2 separate regions of the Homo sapiens genome follow, and region 1 is linked to region 2. The links are contacts of gene promoters, found by promoter capture Hi-C in human tissues and cell types (Jung and others, 2019). All regions are on one chromosome and are shown on one strand. The core of a region is centred on a gene start or on the middle of the fragment in contact, and the rest is flanking DNA. Distances in the headings are between cores, read along the strand shown. Region 1 has its middle 42 kb from the start of PRKG1. Region 2 holds the start of DKK1 (dickkopf Wnt signaling pathway inhibitor 1).

Evidence for each region. Contacts are between HindIII fragments. The study calls those that stand out against the background at their distance.
Region 1: a fragment that was not itself captured here is called in contact with the fragment with the promoter of DKK1 in region 2 in 1 of the 25 tissues and cell types used here (dorsolateral prefrontal cortex).

Annotation. Positions count from the first base shown.
Region 1 is chr10:51,029,348-51,035,294 of GRCh38, forward strand. It overlaps a transcript of PRKG1 not described here. Among named protein-coding and RNA genes, the nearest start is that of PRKG1, 42 kb to the right of the region's middle. The HindIII fragment of the contact is 3,502 bases long and covers 2,467-5,947 here.
Region 2 is chr10:52,310,786-52,316,180 of GRCh38, forward strand. DKK1 (dickkopf Wnt signaling pathway inhibitor 1) reads left to right here and starts at 3,496. Exons shown (of 4, transcript NM_012242.4): 1 at 3,496-3,892; 2 at 4,138-4,300. The coding sequence starts at 3,650. It overlaps PRKG1-AS1 (PRKG1 antisense RNA 1), which reads right to left and starts at 3,343. Exons shown (of 6, transcript NR_038277.1): 1 at 2,849-3,343; 2 at 2,613-2,700. The HindIII fragment of the contact is 6,920 bases long and covers 1-5,395 here.

The DNA.
Region 1 (5,947 bases), core at 2,968-5,467, 1.3 Mb before region 2:
TAGAAAGAAGCTCCTCATCTTTGCCTAATGGTTTATATTTGAGAAAGGTCTCAGTACCCAGAGTTTAACAGTCCATGTCATTAGCCTGTAACTATTTTTTTTAGAAAGTCACCTCATCCATTTCCTTTATTACCATATTTCTCATGCCGGAATGTCAGAAGTCATAAAACTTGTGATATCTTGCAGGACACATTAGGAAATGTGTTGGAATGTGCTCATTGGATTGATTCAGCTCTGGGGGAACAAGTCCTAATAAAATAACAGTAGACCTCAAAAATTAGGTTCCAGTCCCAACTCTGACATGAGCAAGTTGTACCCATGGATGAGTCATTTAAATTTGTTCTTGGTTTGCTTATTTGAGAACAAATTAGCTCCTTTTCCATTTCATCCATTTCTTGTGAGGATCAAATGAAATCGTGGCTTTGATATGAGTGCAAAACATTACACGAATGTAGGAGTGTGTGCTCTGGAGTTAGATTACCTGCGTCCAAACCAGGGCTCCCCTATTTGCTGGCTGTGTAACCTGGGGCAAGTAGGATAACTTCTCACATGTTCTCATGTGGGGAAGATTATGATTGCGATAATAATAATAATTAAATCTATCTCCTAGAACTGTTTTGGAGATTAATTAGGATAATGTTGTAAAGTAATTAATATTCTTCTGATAGAGAAAATAGCAAACAACTATTAATTGTTACTGTTAGAGAAACAGAAATTCAAGTCATTCCATGCATTTTAGTATACTTCTATGATGCTTCCTTCAGTAGATTTTCAATAAAAGGCTGTTGGATAATAGTAAATTGAACACTGTATTTATCTTTAGGGTCAAATAAATACCAATGACTATATTTACTGTTTTTTTTCATAATAAGCCTTTTGATAAATTATCTATAATTTATAACTGTCAGAGAAAAGTTCTTCTTTTTCAAAAAATAGCACTATATTATTTAAAAGAATTATAAATATCTAAATATGTGAATCATTGTCACGTTTTCACTTGCCTGATACACTAAGGGATCACATAAATTATAATGAATTATAAAATCAGAGAAGAAATTGATCAAAGAATCAGATTTTTTTCCAAAGGACTACTTGTCTGTTAGAATTTGCTTAAATTCTTTCTGATAGAAAGTGCTTCCTGATGCAACTCATTCTCTGTAACCAAAGAAAGAAACATATTTGCAAAATTTTCAGATGGATTACTGATATGGTTTGGATATTTGTCCCTTCCAGATCTCATGTTGAAATGTGATCCCCAATTTTGGAGGTGGGGCTTAGTGGGAGGTGTTTGGGTCATGGGAGGGGATCCTTCATGAATGGCTTGGTGCCATCCTTGCAGTAATGAGTTCTTGCTCTATTAGGTCATGCCAGAGCGGGTTGTTTAAAGAGCCTGAAAAACCCCCCTCTCTCACCATGTGATACATCGGCTCCCCTTTGCCTTTCCACCATGATTAAAAGCTTCCTGAAGTCCTGACCAGAAGCAGATGCTGGTGCCATGCTTCTTGTACAGCCTGCAGAGCCATCAGCCATTTAAACCTCTTTTCTTTATAAATTACCCAGCCTCAGGTATTCCTTTATGGCAACACAAAATGGACTAACAAAACTACCTCTCAGTTTCAGAAGGTCCCATTTGATTCACTGATTTTAATTTTTTTACTAGTTAGAGATTCCTATGGAGAAAGGACTCAAGAGGTCACCTAGTTTCTTGAGTGCTTTCCTACCTTCACAGATTATATTGTCTGGAAAAGATCAATCTTGACTCTATTTGCATTTTCAAAAGTATTCATTGATGAATCTTCTAAATTTTCCCTTTAGAATTCAGTCTTATGTCTAACAAATTTCTAGGTGGTAGATTGGAATTCACAGAGGGTGGATAAAAGGTTATTAACATTAATCTCCTAGGCCCTTCATATATAGAGGCATATTTACCCTGTTTGCAAAGTAGGTCAAGCTGTAACTCTTAAATTTGTGACAATGTTGGTTTTCTCAACTAAATTTAAATTTTCTGGAGGACAAGCCACTTTTCATAGACCTTGGCGATAGACCAAAGAATCTAGCAGAAAGACAAAGAGATGGCAGCTTCTCAACAAATGCTTTAGAATGGTCTTAAACCAAGAGTCTCTAAATAGATATTATTTATTATCTAGACCCAAGGATTGGAGCAGAGGGCAGGAGGTGAATGGGAAAGAATGAGGAAGAAGGAAACGTATTTATTGAGTGGCCAGTGTGCATCAAGCATATTGCTCTTTACTGTATACATGCAGTATCTTGTTTTTATCATATCAGCCCTATGAAGTAAATACTGTGACACAATTTTATGGATAGAATTAAGGCTCAGAGAAGTTACATGAGTTATCCAAGATCACAAGACCAGTATGTGGTCAAAATGCAAGTCCACCTGATGCCTTCCCATGCTCTTTTCTTGTTCACGCAGGATTATAACATATCACAGTTTATTATATATCTCATCATATGAATAGAAATATGCCAGTTATGTTAAGCAGAAATTATGCACTGTGAAACCTTGAACTAAGAAATGAACCTGTGATTTTAGGTGTTTTTTCAATTAAACAAGAAAGCCTAAAGAAATGTTAAGCCTATTGAGCAATATAGCATATCATTTATATGAAGCATATTTATCTCAAAGCTGGTTGGATGCTCTGTATAGGAAAAACATTAAAATTGTTCTGCTTCACTGAAGTTGAGTGGGGGGAACTGCAGGTTTTCTTGGGAAATCTTCCAGCTGTTCAGTGTGTGCTGAGAAGAACATTCCAGGCTCCTGAAGCAGCTGCCAGTGTCCTTGGAACTCAGCAGAGAGACAACAGGCTGCCAGGATCATGTGTACCTGTTGTCTCCAATTCCTGCCTCTCTGAGGATCTGTGACTTGCAGCTCATTGGCACCACCCCTCTGCTGGTATTTAGTATTGACAGTCTCAGCTCTACTTCTCCAATTTTAACCCCCAAAGGTCTCTTGGCAACTCTCATCTGCTATTATTATTTCCTCTTTCATCTTTTTTTTTTTGCCCTTGTCGATTTTTTAAACTTCTGAACTTTAATTTAATAGATTTTATTTCCACAGACAATGAAGATAATGCATGTGTTCAATGTAATATACAAATATTATTTTGGTGCCAGCCATGGTGGCTCACACCTGTAATCCCAGCACTTTGGGAAGCTGAGGGAGGTGGTTCACTTAAAGTCAGGAGTTCGAGACCATCCTGGCCAACATGGCAAAACCCCGTCTCTACTAAAAATACAAAAATTAGCTGGGAATGGTGGCTCATGCTTCTAATCCCAACTACTCAGGAGGGTGAGGCAGGAGAATCACTTGAACCCGGGAGGCAGAGGTTGCAGTGAGCTGAGACTGCGACACTGCACTACATGCAGTGGGGGGGTGACTCTGTCTCAAACAAACAAACAAACAAATATTATTTTGGGGTATGTGTATGTGTGCATATGTGTGTTTATTCTAAGCTTTCTTATTGAAATTTTTTTTAATTTCTTATTTTTAAAAATAAAAATTGTGGGTATATAGTAGATGTATATATTTTGGGGGTACATGAGATGTTTTGATACAGGTATGCAATGTGAAATAATCATGTCATGAAGAATGGGATATCCATTCTCTATGCCGACGTATCTTATTTCTACTACAGTTTCTAATTACTTCCCTAACTACTCTGCTTTTTTTCTTCTTTTCTTGTCCCCTAACTTCCATGACTTTCTGTATTCCCTGTCTTAGAATGCTCATCCTTCTCAAAGCTTATATTCCCTTATCTCCAGACATAACTACAGTTCTGATTATTAAGCCTCAGTCTCCTATGTCCAGTTACTCATAGGACATCTTCATTTGGACGTGCTTCCCTCCTTCAAGTATGAAATGCCCACCCCATCATGTCCTCACAACAGGGCACCTTATTTCCATTCCTGATATAGGCACCCTTCAAAATAGTAATAATAGAAGACATTTATTGAAAGCTTACTGGGCAAGCCATTACCCTAATCTATCTTTCTAAGGAAACTGAGGTTGGAGAGGAAAGGTAAATGCTGTGTCTCACAGCTAGTAAGTCGTAAGTGATGGAGCCACAATTTGAAGTCAGTCTCACTATAGGACATGTACCCTTTCCCACACTGCTTTGTTTTATACTTATCTTTGAATAACAGGAATCAGTTTCATCCCTTAATGTCAGGATAATGACATTTAGGTTGGCCAATTTAGGCACTGCTATACACATGGGATGTATCCAATAAATATGTGTTGTATCTACCACACGGCCCTCTAGACACATTTCGGAGTGAAGAGTTATGTTTAAATCACATGTCTTAAAAGGTATGATTCCCAAGCATTAGTGATGAAAATTACTGTGGAAAATACCTGTCATCCAGAGAGCTATGTTTGCAGAAGAAAGGCCATTTTTAATCTAAGCTAATTGAGGACACGGAGGAAAAAAGAAAGTAAATACCCTCAACTCATGGTATTTCAGCATTCCATTGCATTATATCCTGCAGTGTTTGCTCTTATTTCAAGTTTGTTCATTTGTTTTTATGCCTCTCACTATCTCTGTTGTCCCTTTAAGATTTAAATCTTCTGAGGGTTCCTTTTCTCTTTAAGTCACTTTGAATATTATGTAGGCCACAGCATGCCTCACACCAGAGACAATGAGATGCCTCTAGATGATTAGAATTCAAATGATTAGAATTCAGATAGAAGAAAAGAGATACAATTATTAATCAGTGAAACGTGTAAGAAATCACATTTGGACATTACAGTTATTAATTTGCTTTAAATATTTTTATTAGGTGGCAAGCACTCTTCATGAACTTAGAGATTAAGACTCACAATGTATTTCTCTATACTTTAATTGCTTTTTCATCTGAGTTTAAAAATGTGATCCTTGCTCAGTTTTTGAGCTGTAGTTGAAGAGTGCATCAGGACAGGAACTAGTGGAAGTGAGTTGATATCTTTATTCCTCAGGCAATGAATAATAAGTAGTTTGTTGGTAATTTCCATTAATCTGTGAGACAGACAGAATATTATCATGCACTTCACAGTGTGTGTCAGCAATTCTGCCATTTCTAGAAACATAAAATTATCCATGTCTATTTTTCATAAAAACCTTAATTTTTACAGTCTTTCAATGGCAATTTAGTTTTGTCCAAAATTCATAAAATTGACTTGTCATAATTCTCCAATTAAATTTATCCCAACTCAAAAAATATTCTAATTGCTGTATACACTAAATAGAGGAATTTATACTTAGAATTCACAACTTTTTTGCCCTAAACAATCAAATAAGCAAAATTATATATAATATGTTATTTATATATATATATATATATATATATATATATATATATATGCCTTAAAAATTACGGTAAAATTGCTGTAGAAAATTCAGAAAAAAATATATTGAAACTATTAGTTAAATCTTTCCCCATTCTGTACCTAATTTTTAGAAAAAGTTAGAAAACAGTAGGACAAAAGACTGATATTGGGAGTGGGAAGCTTCAAAAATGAACCTGCTTTCTGGATCATTCATTTAGCAAATTACTTATTGAGGCTTCACATGTCTCAGGCCTGTGCTAAGGTGCTGAGAACATTAACCTTGCCCTCAGGCTATTGCCCTCAATCTTCTGTAACATGAGCTCTTTGTGATGGTTTGTTCTTATTTGGAATTCTCAAAATACGTATATTCTGGGAAAAGATCAGAGATGATGGTAACGGTCGTAAAAGGGAGACAGCAAAGTATACACGGTCATGGGGTTTGGGCTCTGGGTTCAGATGCCTGCATTTAAATCTTGGCTCCCTTATGGATGAGCAATGCAATCTTAACCTTGACTGCTCTGTGCCTCAGTTCCACATCTGCAAACAGGAATAATAATGCTGTTTAATTCATAGGGTTATTTGATGATTATGTGAAATACATGCTGAATAAATTTTCATTAT
Region 2 (5,395 bases), core at 2,246-4,745:
GAGGTCAAGGCTGCAGTTAACCACGATTGCACCACTGTGCTCCAGCCTGAGCGACAGAATGAGATCCTGTCTCAAAAAATATATAAAAATATATAAAATAAAAAAAATCAGCAGTCACAAATAATAGAGATGGAAAAATAGTTGGTGAATAGCATGGAGTGTTTTGGAGTATATTTGTCTGTCTCCCTCATGGATGAAAAGGTTGAGAAATATTCTATGCATGGCATCCAGCACTTAAAATATAAAGAAGACATGTGTTAGCATGCTGTTCCCGAGTTATGAGGTTCAATTCCACGCTGATAAGCATATTTCACCTATTCAAAAATATAATACAAAATATTAAATTTGTTACATTAATTATGATCATATTTATACCAGACTGAATAGGAGGCAGGGTTCCCTACAGGACTAAATAAACTCAGTTTAATAAACTAAATTCATCTACTCTGGCTCCCACCTCCTCTGTCACCCAGCTGTAAGAGAGACTCAGACAATCACCAGAACCCTCTCTCCTTCCTAAGACATGTTGGTCACAGTTCCTGCACATTTTTCTTGCTCTCCATGACCTAGTATCTGCCAAAATATAATCGATGTTGGAAAAATTTTTACCCCCAGCCCCATGTAAGTATGTTGTATTTCCCCAACTAGTCACAGACTGAAAGCTGAGGACAAGAAGCCTGCCTTTCATATTGTGAGATATGCTCCCAATAATGGATACTCACCGAATATTAACTGGCTGCTGATGGAACAATGAGTTTTACTATACCTCTTTATCTACCTTGCACTCTTGTTGCCAATGAACAAACCACATCCTGGAAAGGATTTTCAAATGGAGAAAAAGTACTGAAAAAATAAATTTCCTCATTTGGAACAAAGGTTTGATTTGCTATGTACTTAGCCCTCTCTGAGGACCACCCATGTAATTTCTCCCCTGAATAATTTGTGAGGTTACCTCTCCTCTGCCCACTAAATGATTTGAAGGTAGATTATATGTGAACTCATCTTTTATCACACAATATCATGTATAATGCTTAGCACAAAGTAGGAACTCAGATATTGACCAACTCATTATTAGTTTTAAACTCATGACAACTTCAGGAGCAATGTGAAAGCTGAGGAAGGAGGTAGAAGCTAGCCCATTCTTGAAACTCTATGCTTGGTTTAGCTCTCCTAGCTCAATACCACAGATTCTGTCCAGACTCAGTGAATATTGAAACATAATAGACAAATGATATGTGTTCAGAGATCAAGGTTGAATTTATGCAACAAGCTTCTTTGTTATAACAGAATTTTCCTTTTGTTGATTAAATTGTTCCACTTTCTCTTCTTTTGCCCCAGGCAATGGATTTTTTTTGTGAAGCCAAGCTTTTAATGAACCAAGTTCATTAAATGTATTAATCATATACTATCTCTTCAGAAAAAAAGGCAAGAGATTGGCCTTTAGTGTGGCACAAATATATTTCTAGATTCAAAATATTTAAACAGGTTAATAGGACTAAAAAGAAACATTTTCAACCTTCTGATTGGCAGGCGGATTTTTCTCTACGTTTCAAAGTCATTCAAACTTAACACAGCTTGCAGATTTCCTAGTACACTGAAGGTGCTTAACGCATTGATTCCTGACAGGATAATTTCCTGGACAGATGGAATTTGGGATGGGAAGGACACTAATATAACTAGGGTACCATTCAAGAATTGTTTAGATGATCTTCTTAATATTACCTTTGAAACTGAAGGAACTAGAACACAGACCATAGTAAATTGTGTTTTAATTACTCCTTCTCCCAGTAAACTTTAGGATTTTTTTACTTTAAGATTGTCACTGGCTTTACTTGGTGGTGGCCCCAGTTCTGACTATAGTAGGTCAGCATGTGGAGTCATTATAGACAGCCTAAATCTATACAGCTTAGAGGAAGACAAAATAAATATATCTTACTCTTTTTTAATTCAATAGTGATTATTCAATCATCTCTCCCTTTTCCAAACTCACAAAACAGTTGCTTATTTTCTGACACTTATAATATCAACCTGTTTTTAAAAGAATTATGTATGCTTTTATATTTATTGCTATAATTTTATTGTTACTACATCTTTTATTATTACTGTAATTAGAATAAAGAGAACTTTATTATTTAAAATGAGAGCTGTGTCTCATAAATATTTGTATTCACTGTGCCCCTCCCCCCACCACCCATCTCACCAAAAAATTTAAAAAATAAAAATAAGGTAACAACCCAGAGGGCAGCCCAATGCCAGGGCTCTAGGCTTCCAATAAGTTTTTGTTGAATTAAATAGATCATTTCCCATTTATAAGCATGACATCATTCTTATACACCAGCCTTACTTTATTATATCCACACACCAATTTCAATGACGTCAAATTCACTTTCTAATTCACTTTCAGCTCTTCTTCTCCTCAAGGTTGTTTCTTTTCTCCCTAGAAAGGGTATTGCGTGGTCCCGTGCAAGGTAAGACTTGGGAGCAAACCCTGCATTCGGAAGCGTTGCGATGTGATATACTAATGAGGAAGTCAGGCGCTAAGCCCTAAGGGTTTCTTATTTCTCCACATTAGCCCACCACTGAGAAGGGAGAACCGGGGAAAGGCGACTGACCTGGCACGTTGGACCCTGTCCGCTTTGGTCCCGGCCACTTTGATCTCACGCGTCTGCCTAATCAAGTTCATCTACCGCCGCGATTGCCCTGATTCAAAGAACAACATTAAATGGTTTGATTATCGGATGGTCATTTCCCTCTTCCCTCCACCCCTGATCTAATTTCTAAACGCCAGTCTCTCGCCTCCCTCTCTAAACTTCCCATCAAAAGAGAATTAGCTCTTCTTCCTTCTTACCCTCGTTTGATGTGCAAATTTCCTTCTCTTTGCACATTTTTCTCGCAGTGGCGGGGGGAGGTGGGGGAGGAGGGCAACTGAAGGACCTCAAAGCCGGGGATCTAACTCAGATCTGCAAACTGCGACTCTAAAGGGTTAATGAGCAACTTGCACCCGCCACCTGGCCCTCTCAGAGGCGTCTTGCTAGAGCCATTGAATTACAGACCGGTTTGTATTTAATACTGAATATGACTTGTGTGCACAGTCAGCGAGTATTGGCATAAAGGAGAGGGGCAAAAAGTGCTTTTGCAGAGCCTATCACCCCTCGGCTCTGTAAAGTATTTCAGATCCGGATAATTCAACCCTTACTGCCAGGCAAGGGCACCCAAGTTCCCAGAGTTCCTGCTGCCGCCTGCATTTATTAAAGTCGTCTGCTATAACGCTCGCTGGTAGCCTTCACCCCGAAGGTGAGCCGGGCCAGCCGAGCGACTAAGCAAGGGAGGGGCGGGGTGAAGAGTGTCAAAGGCCCCCCTTCATGTACACAAACACACCCCCTCCCAGCCCCTCCCAGCGCTTTGAAATCCCATCCCGGCTTTGTTGTCTCCCTCCCAAGGGGCCGGAATGCTCCGGGCCCGCGGTATAAAGGCAGCCGCGGTGGCGGTGGCGGCGCAGAGCTCTGTGCTCCCTGCAGTCAGGACTCTGGGACCGCAGGGGGCTCCCGGACCCTGACTCTGCAGCCGAACCGGCACGGTTTCGTGGGGACCCAGGCTTGCAAAGTGACGGTCATTTTCTCTTTCTTTCTCCCTCTTGAGTCCTTCTGAGATGATGGCTCTGGGCGCAGCGGGAGCTACCCGGGTCTTTGTCGCGATGGTAGCGGCGGCTCTCGGCGGCCACCCTCTGCTGGGAGTGAGCGCCACCTTGAACTCGGTTCTCAATTCCAACGCTATCAAGAACCTGCCCCCACCGCTGGGCGGCGCTGCGGGGCACCCAGGCTCTGCAGTCAGCGCCGCGCCGGGAATCCTGTACCCGGGCGGGAATAAGTACCAGACCATTGACAACTACCAGGTGAGAGGGGTCGGGCACTCAGAGGATGCTCTGACCTTGAAAGGGTCCTATCTGGAGACGAGGGAGTAGAACGTGCTGAATGTGTGCGGTTCAGGGAGCATTTGGTAACCCTGCATTTGGGAGCAGTGGGCAGTAACAGGTTTTGGAGAGGTGGACAGATAAGGACTGTGATCAGCGCCCGGGTCCAAGAGGGCGGGTACCTGGACGTCTGGGTGCCTCACCCTCTCCCCGAACCCTTCCCACAGCCGTACCCGTGCGCAGAGGACGAGGAGTGCGGCACTGATGAGTACTGCGCTAGTCCCACCCGCGGAGGGGACGCAGGCGTGCAAATCTGTCTCGCCTGCAGGAAGCGCCGAAAACGCTGCATGCGTCACGCTATGTGCTGCCCCGGGAATTACTGCAAAAATGGTGAGTCCTGAAAGCTCCCTTTCACACTAAAACTGTCCAGCCTTTGAGCGTCTATGAATTGGGCGGGGGCGGGGGGTTGGGGGGGGTGGGGGGAGAAATCTCCGCCCTGAGAACACTGCGGCGCCACCTGCAAATGGGTGTTCAGCATGCAGGATTCCGCTGAAGTATCTTCATTGCAAGTGTTTAATCGGGAAGAAGAGAGAAGTTGGGAGGTCTCTGAGGTCCTTATCTTCCTCCGTGTCCCTCAATGATTCAATACAACGGTTCACCTCGTAGTGGACTCTTCCATAAAAATTTGTCTGGGGAGAACCTTGAGGTCAATTGAGAAGGGGGATGATGAGGAGGACGATGGGATCATACAGATATCAAAGAAACCAGCTTTGGCGTTCAGCTGTCCTTTTCATTTTTCTTATTGTGATTCTCACAGTTTTGCCAGACTGGCCTCGCCTTCTGATTTTTGCTGAAACTGTTGTCAGCCAGAGGACTGATTTATCTGCATTGGCCATTTTTAAGAGAGATCTTGGTACCCTCACAACTTGACTTCTCCATCCTTCCCCCTCCCTCTACCCTCTGCTGCCTTAATATAAGTACTCCTCCCCCCAACCACAGATCCACTAACTTTTAATTTTTCAAAAGGTGGATTTAGACAGCTAAAGAGGTCTCCAGAAATAAGCTAACAGGGCGACGACCCTCCTTAGGACCCAGCAGTACTCCAGGATGAACTAAGTAAATCTCTGTAATATAGAAATTACACAGTAAAGTAACTGGCCGGTGAGATTGCAATGTTCCAGGCAGCTGGAATTGCATTTGCTTAACTTAGTCTGGTAGGACCCATATAGCACCAGGGGCAGAGAAGTTATTTTTAAGAACATTTTTAAAGTGACTGAGTTTCTTTTTCTTACCCCAAAGGTAATATTAAAATGGGCAGAAATCTCACTTGCCCCTACCACAGTTGGTGGGAAAGTATTTTAAATGGCTATACTGGGGATATTACCTATGACTGACTGTATACAGTATACACATTGGTGCTTCTGTCCATCTGGAGAGTTTTGCATTAACAGTAAAGAGGAAGTTTGGCTTGTGTTTAAAATGATG